Regions from separate parts of the Homo sapiens genome. Here regions 2 and 3 are each linked to region 1. Evidence: promoter capture Hi-C in 16 types of primary human blood cells and fetal thymus (Javierre and others, 2016). All regions are on one chromosome and are shown on one strand. The core of a region is centred on a gene start or on the middle of the fragment in contact, and the rest is flanking DNA. Distances in the headings are between cores, read along the strand shown. Region 1 holds the start of FOXF1 (forkhead box F1). Region 2 has its middle 90 kb from the start of LINC01082. Region 3 overlaps LINC01081 (long intergenic non-protein coding RNA 1081).

Evidence for each region. The method cuts DNA at HindIII sites, captures the fragments that hold promoters and counts their contacts. A CHiCAGO score of 5 or more calls a contact.
Region 2: a contact is called between a fragment that was not itself captured here and the fragment with the promoter of FOXF1 in region 1, in 1 of 17 cell types (M1 macrophages). The highest score is 5.3, in M1 macrophages.
Region 3: a contact is called between a fragment that was not itself captured here and the fragment with the promoter of FOXF1 in region 1, in 1 of 17 cell types (endothelial precursors). The highest score is 5.1, in endothelial precursors.

The regions. Positions count from the first base shown.
Region 1 is chr16:86,507,813-86,512,640 of GRCh38, reverse strand. FOXF1 (forkhead box F1) reads right to left here and starts at 2,114. Exons shown (of 2, transcript NM_001451.3): 1 at 1,093-2,114. The coding sequence starts at 2,071. It overlaps FENDRR (FOXF1 adjacent non-coding developmental regulatory RNA), which reads left to right and starts at 3,781. Exons shown (of 4, transcript NR_033925.1): 1 at 3,781-3,986. RefSeq lists an enhancer at 1-621. The HindIII fragment of the contact is 3,241 bases long and covers 175-3,415 here.
Region 2 is chr16:86,104,183-86,109,010 of GRCh38, reverse strand. No RefSeq gene overlaps it. Among named protein-coding and RNA genes, the nearest start is that of LINC01082, 90 kb to the left of the region's middle. The HindIII fragment of the contact is 1,160 bases long and covers 1,721-2,880 here.
Region 3 is chr16:86,244,398-86,249,225 of GRCh38, reverse strand. The region is part of intron 3 of LINC01081 (long intergenic non-protein coding RNA 1081); the gene reads left to right. Among named protein-coding and RNA genes, the nearest start is that of LINC01081, 39 kb to the left of the region's middle. The HindIII fragment of the contact is 1,027 bases long and covers 2,224-3,250 here.

The DNA.
Region 1 (4,828 bases), core at 865-3,364:
AGCCATAGGGGAAGTGGTGAGGGAGACCAAGTGGAGGGCCCCTAACGCCCATGGCCGTCACCGCCAGGGCAGCCACCACCACCCCCAACCTCAGAGGCTACGACTGCCGGCGGGGTTGAAGGAGAGGCCAGTGCAGGGCCAGCGCCGGGCCAGCAGCAGGGGTGAGAAGAAGCTTCTCCAGAGAACAGGCCCCGGAGCCGGGGAGTCCCCCGCAGAGAGGCTGCCTAAGGCCTCCAGGCCTGGCTCCTGCCTCCTGGGGCTGCTGACAGCTGACCCTGGACTGGCCCTGGCAAGCTCACTCCAGCTTTTTCCAGAGCTGGGCCTGCAGGCTGCGGGGGGCCTGGGGCAGAATCAGGAGGCGAGGCTGCTGCATCTCCCTTGGCAGATGCTTCTGCATGTTCGGGGTATTGGGGTATCAGGGGTGTTGGGGGTGTGGGGACCTGAAAACTTGGATCCTAAAAAACAAGGAGCCCCCATGGCCCGGTCTGCAGCTCTGACCCTCCGGGGCCTGGCCACGGCACCCTCCTGCCTCAGTCACCACAAAATGCCCCTGGACTCAGCTGTGGGTCTGCCAGGTCTGGTCCCCTGAAAGGCCGGGGCTGAGCCTCTGAGCGCTGGCCCAGCGGCTTTGGGCCTAACACCTTCCGTTCCGCCCAGCCCCAGGCAGAGGCAGCCCTCCAGGCAGCCTGAGGGCCACCACCAGGGAGGGACAGCCATCTGGCCAGCGCTGGGAGCCTTGGGTCCATCCCAGGATCTTTCCAAGCTGTGAGGGGACTTAAGGGACACAAAAGGACTTAGGGCACTGGGGTCTGGGACATCTGGCTCAGGACCAGCCTACCTGGTCAGGCCTGGAGCAGCTGGCAGCTGGAGTTCGAACAGAAAGAGAAACAGATTGGCCCAAACTAGGGTCAAGAGCGGTAGTCACTCTTCGAAGGGGGAGAGGTGGGGCCAAGAGACACCTTGGGGAGCTGGTGCCTCCCCTCAGCCTTGGGGTTCCGACCACAGAAGTGGAGGGGCTCGCCCCAGCTGGGTCCCGCTGCCACTCAGACTCGACTTCCCGGGGACCAGGGCGCCCTCGGCCTCCCCACTCACCTTGCAGCTCGGCTGGGGCGTTGTGGCTGTTCTGGTGCAGATACGGCTGCTCCAGGGAGTGCGTGGAGAGGCTGCCGGACAGGGGGTTGGCCGCGGGGTTACAGGGGGACAGGGGCTGCTGCTTGATATAAGAGGCGCCGCTGTTGAGCGCCGCGGACGCCGAGGGCGGCCAGGCCGCCGCCGAGCCCGAGTAGACGGCGTGCGGCTCCATGACCCCACCGGCGCCGGTGGGCAGCAGCGGGGAGGCGGGCACCGAGCTGTCGTGGTGCGGGTACTCGCCGGCCGCCGCGCCGCCGCAGCCGCCCATGTACGAGTGGCCGCCGTTGGAAGGCAGGTGGGGCACCGAGTGGCTGGGCAGGGCCATGCCGTCCACGTTGCCCGGCAAGTGGCCGTTCATCATGCCCAGGCCGCCCTCCAGCGCCAGGCTGTTGGGCGGGCACGAGAGGCCGCCGGCCGAGCCCTGGAAGCCGTAGGTGTCCGGGAGGTGGTTGAAGCCGAGCCCGTTCATCATGCTGTACATGGGCTTGAGCGCCTGGCATTTCCTTCGGAAGCCGCGCGGCCGCCGCCGAAAGGAGCCCTCCTCGAACATGAACTCGCTGGCCGGGTCGATGGTCCAGTAGTGGCCCTTGCCGGGCCGCCCAAGGCCCTTGGGTAGCTTGATGAAGCACTCGTTGAGCGAGAGGTTGTGGCGCACGGAGTTCTTCCAGCCCTGGTAGGAGCCCCGGAAGAAGGGGAAGCGGCTCTGCAGGAACTGGTAGATCTCGCTCAGCGTCAGGCGCTTGGTGGGTGAACTCTGGATGGCCATGACGATGAGCGCGATGTAGGAATAGGGCGGCTTCTCCGGGCGCCGGATGCCGGCGTTGGTCTTCTTGGCCTTGGACGGGCCGGACGACGCGGGGTCCATGGCCGCGCCGCCTCCCCCGCCGCCGCCGCCGCCGCCGCCGTGCGGTGGCTGCTGCTTCTCGGGCGCCGAAGACATCGGGTGGCTGCTGCCGCCGCCGCCGCTGCCGCCGCTGCTCTGCGCCGCGGACGGGCCGGGAGGAGGAGGAGGAGGAGGAGGAAGAGGACGACGGGGGGGAGGAGGGCGAAGGGGAGGGGGCTGCGCGCGCGGGGCTGGCTGCACCTCTGCCGTCATCGGCGGCCACTTCTCCCGAGCGAGCCGCGGCGCGCCCGCCCCCGCGCTCCCGCCCGCCCTCCCCGAGGAGCTGCTGGATCCGCCGGCGGTTGGCTCAGAGCCCCTCTCTCTCCAACTCCCGCCTCCCCCACCTCTCTCCTCCCTCTTTCTTTCTCGCCCTCCCACAAGGAAAGGAGCCGAGCTGAGGCCGAGGGCAGCCCGGGCGAAGGCCGTGAGGAAGCTACCCCCGCCGGTATTTTTTGGGGGGAGGCACCACCTCCAGGTCTTACGGCCGTGCGCCCCAGCCGGGAGCAGCCCTGAGTCCCCGCCGCCCGCGGCGCTCGGCTCCGAGATTCCGGGCGAGGCAGCCTTCACTCCATCTCCGCTCGGCTGCGTCTCGCGGGTCGGCCTAAGACCCTCCCGGAGTTCCCTCCCTCCGTCCCTGCCCCCCTCGGGCCCCCGCGTTGGTGGGCGCTTAAAGAGCCCCCACTCTCGCCGCCCCGCGGCCGCCAGCAGAATCCGCCCCGCCTCCACCAACCTGGCGAGCAAGTGTTAATGCGCCCTCCGCCCGCGGTTCAGCCCCGGTGCGCGCTGGACCCCGCCTTCCCCGCCCGGGCGGCGCGGCGGGAAACGCTCCCTGGGCCGGGGCCTTCCCCGACGCGCACAGCCCTGTAGCAAATCGCAAGTGCGGCGGCCTCCCGGTCGTGACCATCGCAGGCACAGCCGGCTCGACTCCGGTCCTCGCGGCCGGCCGGCTAAGTTCCCGCGAGGGACCGCCTACCCACTCTCCCCGCCCCGGGAAGAACTGCGCCGCTCCCGGGATTTTTCGGACTCGCCCAGCAGCTTGCGAGCGGGCGGGCAGCCGCCGGGGCAGAGCGCAGGCGGAAAACGAAAGCGCAGCACGAGTCGCGGCCGCTTTGTCTCGGGCGCCGCGGGCCTGACGGGGGCGAGTGAGAACCCGCTGGCCCAGAGGCGACCCAGACCGCACAGGCCCCTGAATAAGCGGCGTGCTCAGTCACTCACCCGTGCGCGCACACCCTCGCGCTCTTGTCCACACATTAGCACACACATACATGTCTTGATGCACATGCAAACCCGGTAAATTACGCAAACAGACGTGTAAACACACCCATGCGTGTGTGCACACTCATATGCAGAGGGCGCTCAGGCATGTGCGCACCCACTAATGCACTCGTTGACACGGAAGCTTAAGGCCCACAGGAGCTTAAGTTCGCACTCACTCCCACTCACGCGTACACACGCCACGCTCGGATCTGAACTCACACGTAGTTCAGTTGCCCTCCCCCACCCCCAACACACACTGAAAACCCGCCTATTTGGCCCCGCGGCCCCGTTTTCAAAGCGCAGGTTCCGATTTCCCGAGAGATGGCAAAGGCCCTGGCAGGAAGTTTACAGGGTTTAACGTAAACAAGTTCTGGGGGATTCTTTAATAATAATAATAGAGAATTCCGCGTGCGCAGGGCGGGAGGGGGGAGTTGGCCTAATGCCCCTGTGGGCTCGGCCTGCCGCCGCCGCGGGGCCTCTGACACTGCGCGCCAGGCCAGGTTCCTGAGAGCAGACAGCGCGGGCTGGGAGCGCCGGCAAGGGCGGCCCTCGCGCACCTGGCTGCCAGCCCGCAGGGGGCTCGCACGCAGACCTGCCCTTGCCACCTCAGCGCTCGGGTGCGGGCTGGGGGCGGTGGAGCCACGAAAGGTGGTGCCGAGAGCGGAGCGCAGGACAGCGCAGGAGCCCCGGCGCATCGCGGCGCGCACAGACCCAGGTGAGTGCTGCTCTCGCAGCGACTGCTGGCCGGGCGCGGCCTCTCCCTCCAGGGTTCCGAGTTGAGAAGAGGGGGGCGAGGGGTGTTTTCGCGGGTCATCGCGAAGAGCCTAGAGGCCAAGCCCCAGCGCGAGCTGGGGCGAGAGGCGTGTGCCGGGCTCGCAGCACGGCCCGCGGCGCGGCGCGTTCAAAGCCTACCCGCCTCTCGGTTTTCTCCGGACTCCTTGTCTCCCGCTAACTACCCGCCCCCACCTTCCTGGCTCGGACGCCTTCATTTTCGGCGGGAGACGCCTGTCGCCTTCGGGGCGCCTGGCACGTCGGTGAGAGGAGCTGGGGGGCTCGCCGGCGCAGCCTGCCGGGCAGTCGCCGCCTCCTCCGCCAGATCTGCGCTCGCGGGAGAAGAGAGCCGCCTTCCCGCGCTGCCCTTCCGCTGGCCTCTCTGGGTCTCCGCGTGCAGACAGCCTGGCCCGCCTAGGGAAAGAATGAGTGTGGGACGTGACCCGTAGTGTGTGGTTGTGCATTCACGCAGGTAAACGCTCTCTGGCAGACCCGCTACCACTTCACACAACCAGCTCAGCCTCCGCGCACACAGACACGCTCCGCACCGCCCACGGCCTCAAACACCCTTCCCAGCGACCCTCACACAGCTCAGGCGCTCCCAACCCTTGGACCAACACACAGGCCTGCCCAACGGGGAGGGCACACTTTGGTTTAAGTGCACACTTCATGCACGCCCACATGTTCTCCACTGCGCGTTCGCCCACGCATAGCCAGGCGCCACGCGCAAATAATCATAGGTACCGCCGCTCCATACGTGCGCACGCGTCCACGAACACAAGCATT
Region 2 (4,828 bases), core at 1,051-3,550, 400 kb after region 1:
ACCCGAATTAGAGCATCTCTGAGAGGAAGAGACCAACAAGAACACCAACAGTACTAGTAGTCATAGCAGTAGTAGTCATGGTGGTAGTAGCAGTAGTAATGGTGGTAGTAGTAGTAGTAACAGTGGTAGTAGTAGTCATGGTAGTAGTAGTAATGGTGGTAGTAGTAGTAGTAGCAGTAGTAGTAACAGTGGTGGTAGTAGTAGTAGTAATGGTAATAGTAGCAGTAATAGTAATGGTAATAATAGCAGCAGTAGTAATGGTGGCAGTAGTAGTAGTAATGGTGGTAGTAGTAGTAGTAATGGTGGTAGTAGCAGTAACAGTAGTAGTAATGGTAGTAGTAATGGTGGCAGTAGTAGTAATGGTAGTCGTAGCAGTAGTGGTAATAGTGGTAGTAGTAGTCATAGTAGTAGTAGTAATGATAATAGTAGCAGCAGTAGTAATGGTGGTAGTAATAGTAGTAATGGTAGTAGTAGCAGTAACAGTAGTAGTAATGGTGGTAGTAGTAGTAATGGTGGTAGTAGTAATGGTGGTGGTAGTAGTAGTAATGGTAGTAGCAGTAGTAGTAACAGTGGTAGTAGTAGTCGTAGTAGTAATGGTAATAGTAGCAGTAGTAGTAATGGTAATAGTAGCAATAGTAGTAATGGTAATAGTAGCAGCAGTAGTAATGGTGGTAGTAATGGTAGTAGTAGCGGTAACAGTAGTAGTAGTAATGGTAGTAGTAACAGTAGTAGTAATGGTGGTAGTAGTAATAGTAATGGTAGTAGTAGCAGTAGTAGTAATGGCGGTAGTAGTAGTAATGGGAGTAGCAGCAGTAACAGTAGTAGTAGTCATAGTAGTAGTAATGGTGGTAGTAGTAGTCATAGTAGTAGTAGTAATGGTAGTAGTAGTAGTAATGGTAGTAGCAAAAGTGGTAGTAGTAGTAGTAATGGTAATAGTAGCAGCAGTAGTAATGGTGGTAGTAGTCGTAGTAATGGTAGTAGTAGCAGTAGTAGTAATGGTGGTGGTAGTAGTAATGGGAGTAGCAGCAGTAACAGTACTAGTAGTAGTAATGGTAGTAGTAGCAGTAGTAGTAATGGTGGTAGTAGTAGTAATGGGAGTAGCAGCAGTAACAGTAGTAGTAGTAGTAGTAATGGTAGTAGTAGCAGTAGTAGTAATGGTGGTAGTAGTAGTAATGGGAGTAGCAGCAGTAACAGTAGTAGTAGTAGTAGTAACGGTAGTAGTAACAATTCCTCCAGTATTTATTGAGCATTTTTTATGTGCCAGGCACTATACCAAGTACTGGGGACACATTAGTAGACAAAAAGTCTCCACCTTCATGGAATTCACTTTCCAGCTGGAGGAAAACAGACACTCGATGAAACTCACTGTATGTTAGATAGACAAGCGTTACGAAGAAAAAAAAATCAGGGAGGGAGGATAAGACGTGTCAGAAGAGGGATGCTGACAGTGTTTAGAGACAGTGGCCAGGGAAGACCTCACCGACAGAAACCCTGAAGGAAGGGAGGCAGGAGCGCTCAGATCGCTGAGCACAGCATTTGAGGCAGAGGGAACACAGCATGCACAGCCCCGGCAGACGTGTGCCAGGCACGTGGGTGGGTCAGCCAGGCCCGTGCTGGAGCGGTGAGGAGGCAGTGAGAGATGGAGAGACAGGGTCTCTGCCGTCCCAGGCAAGGGCAGGCAGGAGACAGTTTCGCAAGGACCTGGAAGCCGTGGTAAGCTTGTCGGCTTTACTTCAGATGAGCTGGGAACCCCTGGGAGGGTAGAATCGATGCGTTGTGAGCACCCTGGCTGATGTTGGCGGGGGGACTGTGGGGATAAACACACAGAGGGAGCCCAGTTAGCAGGATTCCAGTGAGGAATTGGTGCCCCACAAGAGGTCACCAGGGAATTGGGAGAGGAAATTGGATTCTGGGTATATTGTGAAGGCAGAGCCGATAGGATCTGCAACAGACTGAAAGTGGCCTGACAAAGGAAAGATACAAGGTAGACCTCAGGGTGTTTGGCCTGAGCAACTGGAAGGAGAATAATCAGTTATTCTTTCTTTGATATCCAGCTGGTAACAAAACAGTAAAGGCCCTGGGTGGACTGTACAGCCCAGTATGGGGGGAACTCTTTAAAAACATTAGTGCAGATATGAAAAATGCGTATAAATGATAAAAGTGCTATGCAAGACAAAAGGAAAACGTGCACCCCATAAAAGTGCTTGCTCGAGGTGGGCAGGGGCACCTCGCCATTCTCTGCTGTGTCCCTAGTATCTAGGAAGCACCCAGTAACAGAGCAGCCCGTGCAAAAGAACCATTTGTTAGAACACAAATGAAAATGGACAAGGCAGGTCACAGTTAGTGAACTCTTAGTGTGTGGCAGGCACTGTGCAAAGTACTTTCATGTGTGACGTCTCAGATGATCTTCACAACAACCTTTGAGGTAAGTCCTGGCGGTACCCACATCTCATTGATCAGAAAATGGAGTCCCAGAGAGGCTAAAAACTTACGCAAGGTCAACAAGCAGGTAAGAAGCAAAGATGGGATTTGAACCCAGGCAATCTGGCTACAGAGACCTTGCTCTTCACAGTCACAGAATTCTGCCTCCAGTTAACCTTGCTGATCCAGCTGTGGGTCCACTCAATCATCCTCCAGCCAGCCAGCCCTCTACCTACACATTCATCCACTCATCCATCCACCCATCCACCCATCCACCCATCCGCCAAGCCATTCAAACTACCATCCGCTCACCCAACCATCCACCATCCACCAAACAGCACTTATTAAACACCAGCTGTGTGCCAGGCAATGGAGATAGAATAATGAGCAGACCACACAGGCTCCTCACGCTCCTGGCGGTGCCAGTCTGAAAGAGGGGCTGACAGGAAAGTGGAAGCTTGGAGGGTGAGTGGGTGAGCCATGGAGTAAACAGAGACACATCTGTTAGCCGGTGGAATTGTCTCCACCTGGAATGAACTGTCCTTGCATGTGGAAGCCAGAGCCTGGCCTGGAGTAGCTGAGAACCCGCTCAAAAGTTCTGCTGTGGGCCAGGCACAGTGGCTCACGCCTGTAATCCCTGCACTTTGGGAGGCCAAGGTGGGAGGATCACGAGGTCAAGAGATCGAGACCATCCTGGCTAACACAGTGAAACCCCATCTCTACATGGGGTTTCAAAATACAAAATACAAATTTCAAAATACAAAAAATTTCAAAATACAAAATACAAAAAAATTAGCCGGGCGTGGTGGCGGGCACCTGTAGTCCCAGCTACTGGGGAGGCTGAGGCAGGAGAATGGCATTAACCCAGGAGGCGGAGCTTGCAGTGAGCCAAGATCGCGCCACTGCACTCCAGCCTGGGCGAAAGAGCGAGATTTCCGTCTCAAAAAAAAAAAAAAAAAAGTTCTGCTGTGACATGGCTGACCCAGGAGGAAAATTGTGAAATTGTGCAGCTTGTTCACAAAGTCTCTCTATTTGGAAACTTCCAGCACCCACAATGGGGTCTATCACGCTATCCTCTGAATGCCAGAGCCTCCCACTCATGCTTCCTGAGCTCCAGAATGTTCTCTCCCTCATAGCCTGCTTGTCCTCTGCCTGAGAATCTCGAGTCCCTGCCTGTGCTAAAGGACACACTGGGTGCTAATAACTTGAGCAGATAACTCTAGGCCCTGTTAATATGCGAATGAAATCATCTTGTTAGGGGAGCAGGAGGATAAAAGGCTCTATTCTGAAGAAGCATTTGAAGGAGGTGTATCCAATGGTGGCATTGCTGGCACTGTGCTGGACAGCCTTTGCTTGACCACCAATCTTCATTCCTCCTGTTTCTGGGGTTAGACTCTCAATTTCCTTTTGGAAACTATCCCTATACCATTCTCAGTCCACAAGATTCAGGTGGCTGATGACAACACCTCCCAGTTTCAGGGGTGAACACGGGACCTAGGCCCAGACAAAAAAAGTCACATTGATTGGCTCAGAGATGGCACATGACCAAGCCAGTAAGAGTCAACCCCAGGACATTCCTCGAACAACGGATAATGAACAGGCTCTTCACACTGGCATTACTAAACGGATAGTGTGGAAGTCGAGTTGCCAGAGGCAAGCCCTTGGAGAAAAACTCCCTGAAAATGAAACCAACCTACAGCAAAATGGAACCAAGGGAAGGGAGAGGGCAGATTTTTACAACAGGATCTGAGCACCTGGATCCCACCATGCCTGAACTCCAAGGATGGGGTCCTTGTATTATATATTTTTCCATAGATGTAAAGTCATTCTGTCACTTAAAACTGAATGAATCCTGACTAGTATGACGTCAGAGGAGTCAGACAGGACCACATATAGGGCTATTCCTGTAGGGACACTTCCTCCAAGAAGGTCCCCTGACTCCATCTTCTCCTCTCTCAGGTAGATGTAAAGCCTCTCCCTGCCGTTTCAAGTGCCCCTGAGCTTCTCTAAACCTTTACTGGGCACTTCAGACTTAGGTATTATCAGGGGGTCACCTCCTCTGATAGAGTGTGAACTTCTGGGGGATAGAGAAAGAATGGAGGAGTCTGGAGAGATGTGCCCCTGAGAAGGGCACTTCCCGCTCTCAGGCTCTGTTTCCTCACCTGTTAAGGGTGGCCAAAAATATCAGCAATAAAAGCACCGTACAGTGTCACTGGAGGACTCAGTGGCTGCTGCAGGGAGCCCTGCAGAGTTCGCCTGCAGCCCTGAACATGCAATAGGTGAAAAGAAGGAGGGCTAGGCCCTAGGAAGTAACCCCACAGTGATTCAATAATTATCTTTATACTTCAAAACCATAGGGCCCCTCACTTTTTCAATAAAGCCGTTAGCTTGTCATTATATTTTGAAA
Region 3 (4,828 bases), core at 1,488-3,987, 260 kb after region 1:
GTGTAACACTTGGGAATTACGGGAGCTACAATTTAAGATGAGATTTGGGTGGGGACACAGCCAAACCATATCAGGCACCAACCTTCAAAAGCCCTCCGGGGCTCCCCTCAACTCCCGACTGGCCCTTTCAGCCTCCTGCCAACTGTGTGGACATCACCCTGGGAAATGGAATTTCCATGAGACTCCTGGCGGTTTCCCACCTTTGCACACATGATCCTTCTGGCTGGACCCCCATCCCTGGTCTTGAAGGGTTCCTATGCTTCCTTGAGGATTCTGCCCCGGTATCACCTCCTCCAGAAGTGTCTCTTGACCTCTTCATCTGCATCAGCCCCCTTCCTCTGAGCGCCCACAGGGTCTCATGGCCGATGATCTCACATAAATGAAGTTTGTGCAGTGTAGTGGCCGTGTATTGGCTTGTGTGTTGGTTTGGACGTGGACATTCACAGTAGGGGCATAAAGGGAGGTTCCTCTTTTCTAAATGCCAGAGAGAAATGAAACCCGGTCAAATTCATCACATCTGCAGTCCCAGGTCCTTCGAATGTGTCATTAGGGTTATTATCACTGATAATAAACATGCCTCGTGTCTACTAGGAGACAGGCCTGGTGCACACTGACTCACTTGGGGGCCCAGGTGGGCACCTTGCAGGGGGCATTGGCCAGGCCCAGGTCTACTCACAAGGACTGTTTAATCAGTTACCTAGATGGTGTCAGTAAATGCATTGTCCTTCAGCTGGGTCCCCCTCTGCCCAACCCCAGAGCCCTTAACCCTGGGACACACAGTGACCTGGGTGGCTGCCAGGGGCCCCCATCAGCTGGATGGTGGCTGGAGATGGGGGAGGGGAGGCTATTGAGTGTCCTCAGCCTCAGGATCTGTATCCCAGACCCCTACACGGGCAGTGGGACATCCAGATCGGGTTTGGACTGCGTCCTGATTTGGAGCACAGTGAAGTCTATTCTTCTCAGGCTGCAAACCAGCCCATTCCGGGGCATTCACATTTCAGCTGGGTTTGCGGTCACATGCACGTTGTTCAATTTCACCGAAATCAGCAGCACTCGGGGTGTCGATCTCAGCCCTGTGGGTTCAGTGACCATCAGTGCCAATTACATGAAATGCCAGTTGCCACGCAATTCTACCTTCGCACAGGCCAGCCAAAGAAAAAAATGTGTTCCTAAAGTTAATTAAAACCAAACCAAGACCACATGGCTCCTTTTGGGGGAACTGACCCCGGCTCCTTTCCCATCTCCATTTCCCTCTCGTGGTGTTGAAGCTGATCCCACCCAGGGCTCATTTTGATTTTTGCACAATTCACCTTTGTTGGGATCTAGGCTCAATTTGTTTGAGTAGTTGGTTGAACCAACAGCCCACTTGGATATTTGCATTTAATAGGCAAATGGGATCATATATCTGCTGGACGAAGTGTCTCTACTGTGGGGATTTTCACCTTTGCAGAGGCACGTGTAAGTTCCAGGATTATGAAGTATCAAGTTATATTAACCAGGACAAAGGGAGGAGGGAGGATGGAGGGACACAGACCGTGGGATATTGGGTTACTTTCGAGGCCAGTTGATTTCTACAGCCTGTCTGAGCTTCCTGCATGTCTGTGGAGATAAAATTGATTGTGAATCAATTGGCCAGAAGTTTCTCCTGTGAGATTCTGAGCTTGGCTCATTCCCTGGTGTACCTTTGATTTTCTGTTGAGCAAAGCCTTGGTTAACAGAACAATAATTAGTCATTAAGAGCACACCATGCATTTCGGAAACGTCCCTGATGGTTGATAGAGTTTAATCTTACCATTCTGGGCTATAATTTTTTAAAATGTTTTCAAAGTAGCTTTTTAAAATTTTATTGATTTATTTTTAAGCAGCTTTATTGAGATATAAATTCAGATACCGTGCAAGTCACTCATTTAAAGCATGACATTTAATGATCTGCGGTGTGTCACATTATTCACTTTCTAAGAACTGTGGTAAAATATGTATAACGTAAAACTTAATATGGTAACCATTTTAGGTGTACCTAAATGGTGGTGTTAATTGCCTTCACAATATTATGCAACCATCACCACCATCTATCCCTAAAGCTTTTACCTCACCCCAAATAGACATGTTTCTACCATTTAGCCTCCCCACAGAGTGTGAGAATATCCAGGTGAAAAATGAAGCGATACTGTCAAGTTTCCTAAAGGAGTTACCTCCCAAGTGGCTCATGGGTTCCTGGAAGCTTCCGGGTCTTGAGCTTGAGCTCCGTGAGGAAGGGAATGTGGCGCGGTGCTGCCAAGATCTGCAACGGTGCTTGGCACATGTAGGTGTACAGTGCATACGAGTGAGATTTGTTGTCGGGAATATCTTAAAATTGGAGTGGCTGTGTTGGAACAGCCGTGGTTAGGTGTGAAGGGTGCCCGCTCCCTCCCAAGGGGCTCTGTGGCAGGACAGGAGCCTGTGGGGGATTGTCAGCCATGGAGGCATTGGGTCTCTGTGGCACTATGGGGGGCTGATGGGAACTGGGTCCATCTCGTGTGTTCTGGGAACTCCCAGGGCTTTGAGCCAGCTGCCCCCTACCTGCTTTCCCCATCTCAGGCAACAGTCATGTGGCTTACATCTGCCACGACACTTGATATTTTTCTAAGATGTCTTCCAAAATAAGTAGAAAGAGAGGTTATTGCCCCATTTCACAGATGAACTAACTGTGGTCCCCAGGCAATCTCAGGGCGAGATACCCCTGGGAGCCAAGAAGAGGAGCCTGCCTTTTCTCCTTTGATCAATCATCAAGGTTACAAATAGTCACCCAGATGTCACGAAAGCCCTCACCTGTGGCCTGCTTGGAATCAGCATGTTTCCAGACGGTGTGGCGGTTTTACCTGAAACATGGCTGCTTACCCTGTGACTCTTCTCCCTTCTAAAGGTGGTTGCTGGTCTCCTTCCCTGTGGACATTGACTTGCTCCGGTGCATACAATGAGGTAGAAATGAGCCAGTGTGGTTTCCAGGATGGAGTATAAATGTGATGCAGCTCCTGCCTCGCCCTGTCTGTCTTAGGTGCCCACCGTTAGAGCCCAGTCACCATGTACAGGAACCAGGCCACACAAGAGGCCACACGTCCTCTGGCCACAGCCCCTGCTGTGGTCCCGGCCACGCTTGTGTGTCAGTGCACAGCTGTATGGGGGACCCAGCCCCAGCCTTTGAGCCTGCCCAGTAGATGCCATCAGTGGAGGAACAAGTAAAGGAAACATCAGTGTTGTAAGCCAGCAAGCTTTGGGCTTCTTTGCTGTGCAGGGGTGGAACCTAGGAGTGATGATATCACCCCTTGTGATGTGTGAGTTCCAGGTTCCTCCTGGGGCTCCCTTCAACTTCCCTTCAAACCCTCTCTGCCTGGCTTCTATCTGTCTGTCCTCCTCCTGGTACTTTATGGATTTAACGAAGAAAAGTTAATCATCATTTGCCACATATAGGACAAAACTTTAACCCTCGTGTATTAAATGGGGGATGATAATGTGCTGCTTCTGGGAGGAAATTAAACTTACACAGCAGAAGCGTCCACTGTTCAGCATACCCATGGACACCACCATGGTAGACAGACCCGTAGGCGGACCCAGGACCCCACACCCTGGTGTGCACACCCTGTGGGAACCCCTTCCCTGAGAGCAGCCAGGGCCTGTGACTGCTTCTGATCCATAGGGTCTGGCAAAGGTGACAGACGTGTCTGGTTCCATACACGTGGTTATGGGGTGGCGCTGCCTAAGGCTGTGGCCCTCAGTCGGCTGGAATCCACCCACCATGCTGGCTGTGAAGAAGCTGGGCACACTGCTGAGCCCTGTATGGTGGGGAACTGTAGTTGACCTCTAGTTGTGGAAGGCAGCCTCCAGCTGATGGCTAACAAATGAAACAAAATGAAATGAAGCACTCCAAAACTGTAGCTTTCAGTCCAACAGCCCTACAGACCTGAAGTCTTGCAAAAGCCTGAGCAAGCAAGAAACTGGATGTTTCCCCACTCAGGCGTTCAGATGAGACCAGCCCCAGCCAATATGTTAATCAAAGCCCTGCAGAGGCCGCAACTGAGCTGGGCCCAGATGCCTGACTGTTTTTGCCAGCTGCTATGTGTATTGAAATGTGTCATGCAGCAGAGACCACCTTAATCCACATCGTCACCATGCCATGTCCAGCAGCTGTACAGGTCTCCTCTCTAGCCTCCTGTCCTCCACCCACCTGCAGCCCCCTCAGCCTTTTCTCAACCCTTCATTGTGGTGACCCTGTAAAAATGTAGGTCAGTCTGTGGCTCTGGCAGTGACAAGATAATTGTCATCAAGCTCATGGTTCACCGTCTACCTCCACCTGCCCCTCTGGCCATGTCTCCTGCTTCTCCCCATCCCTCCCAATAATGACAACTCCAGCCATGTGGGCCTTCTGTCTATTCCCCAAGCTCATCAAGCTCACTTGTACTTGGCACTAGCCATTCCCTCTTTCTGGAATGTTCTTCCCCCAAATCTCCACATGGCCGGCTCCTACTTGGCTGGGATGGCCCCTGTAGCCCACCCCTCCCCACGTACTCCCCTCCCCATCTCCTTTCATTTTCATCTCAGCTCCCACCACGACCTGGCATGCCTGGCTTTTTTTGTTTATTTTCTGGCCCCCACCCCAGTTATACTGTGTGCTTCCTGAGTTAGGAACTCTGTGCTATTTGTACCTGCAGCCCTGAGGATTAGGACACTCCTTGGCATGTGGTAGGAGCTCAGCTAGTATTTGCGGACTGTTCTGAAGTCCCCAGTGAGCCAGTGGTGGATAAAGTTATTGCCCGTCACCCCCATGACGTCTCTGCTCCCGTGCCAGCTGCCT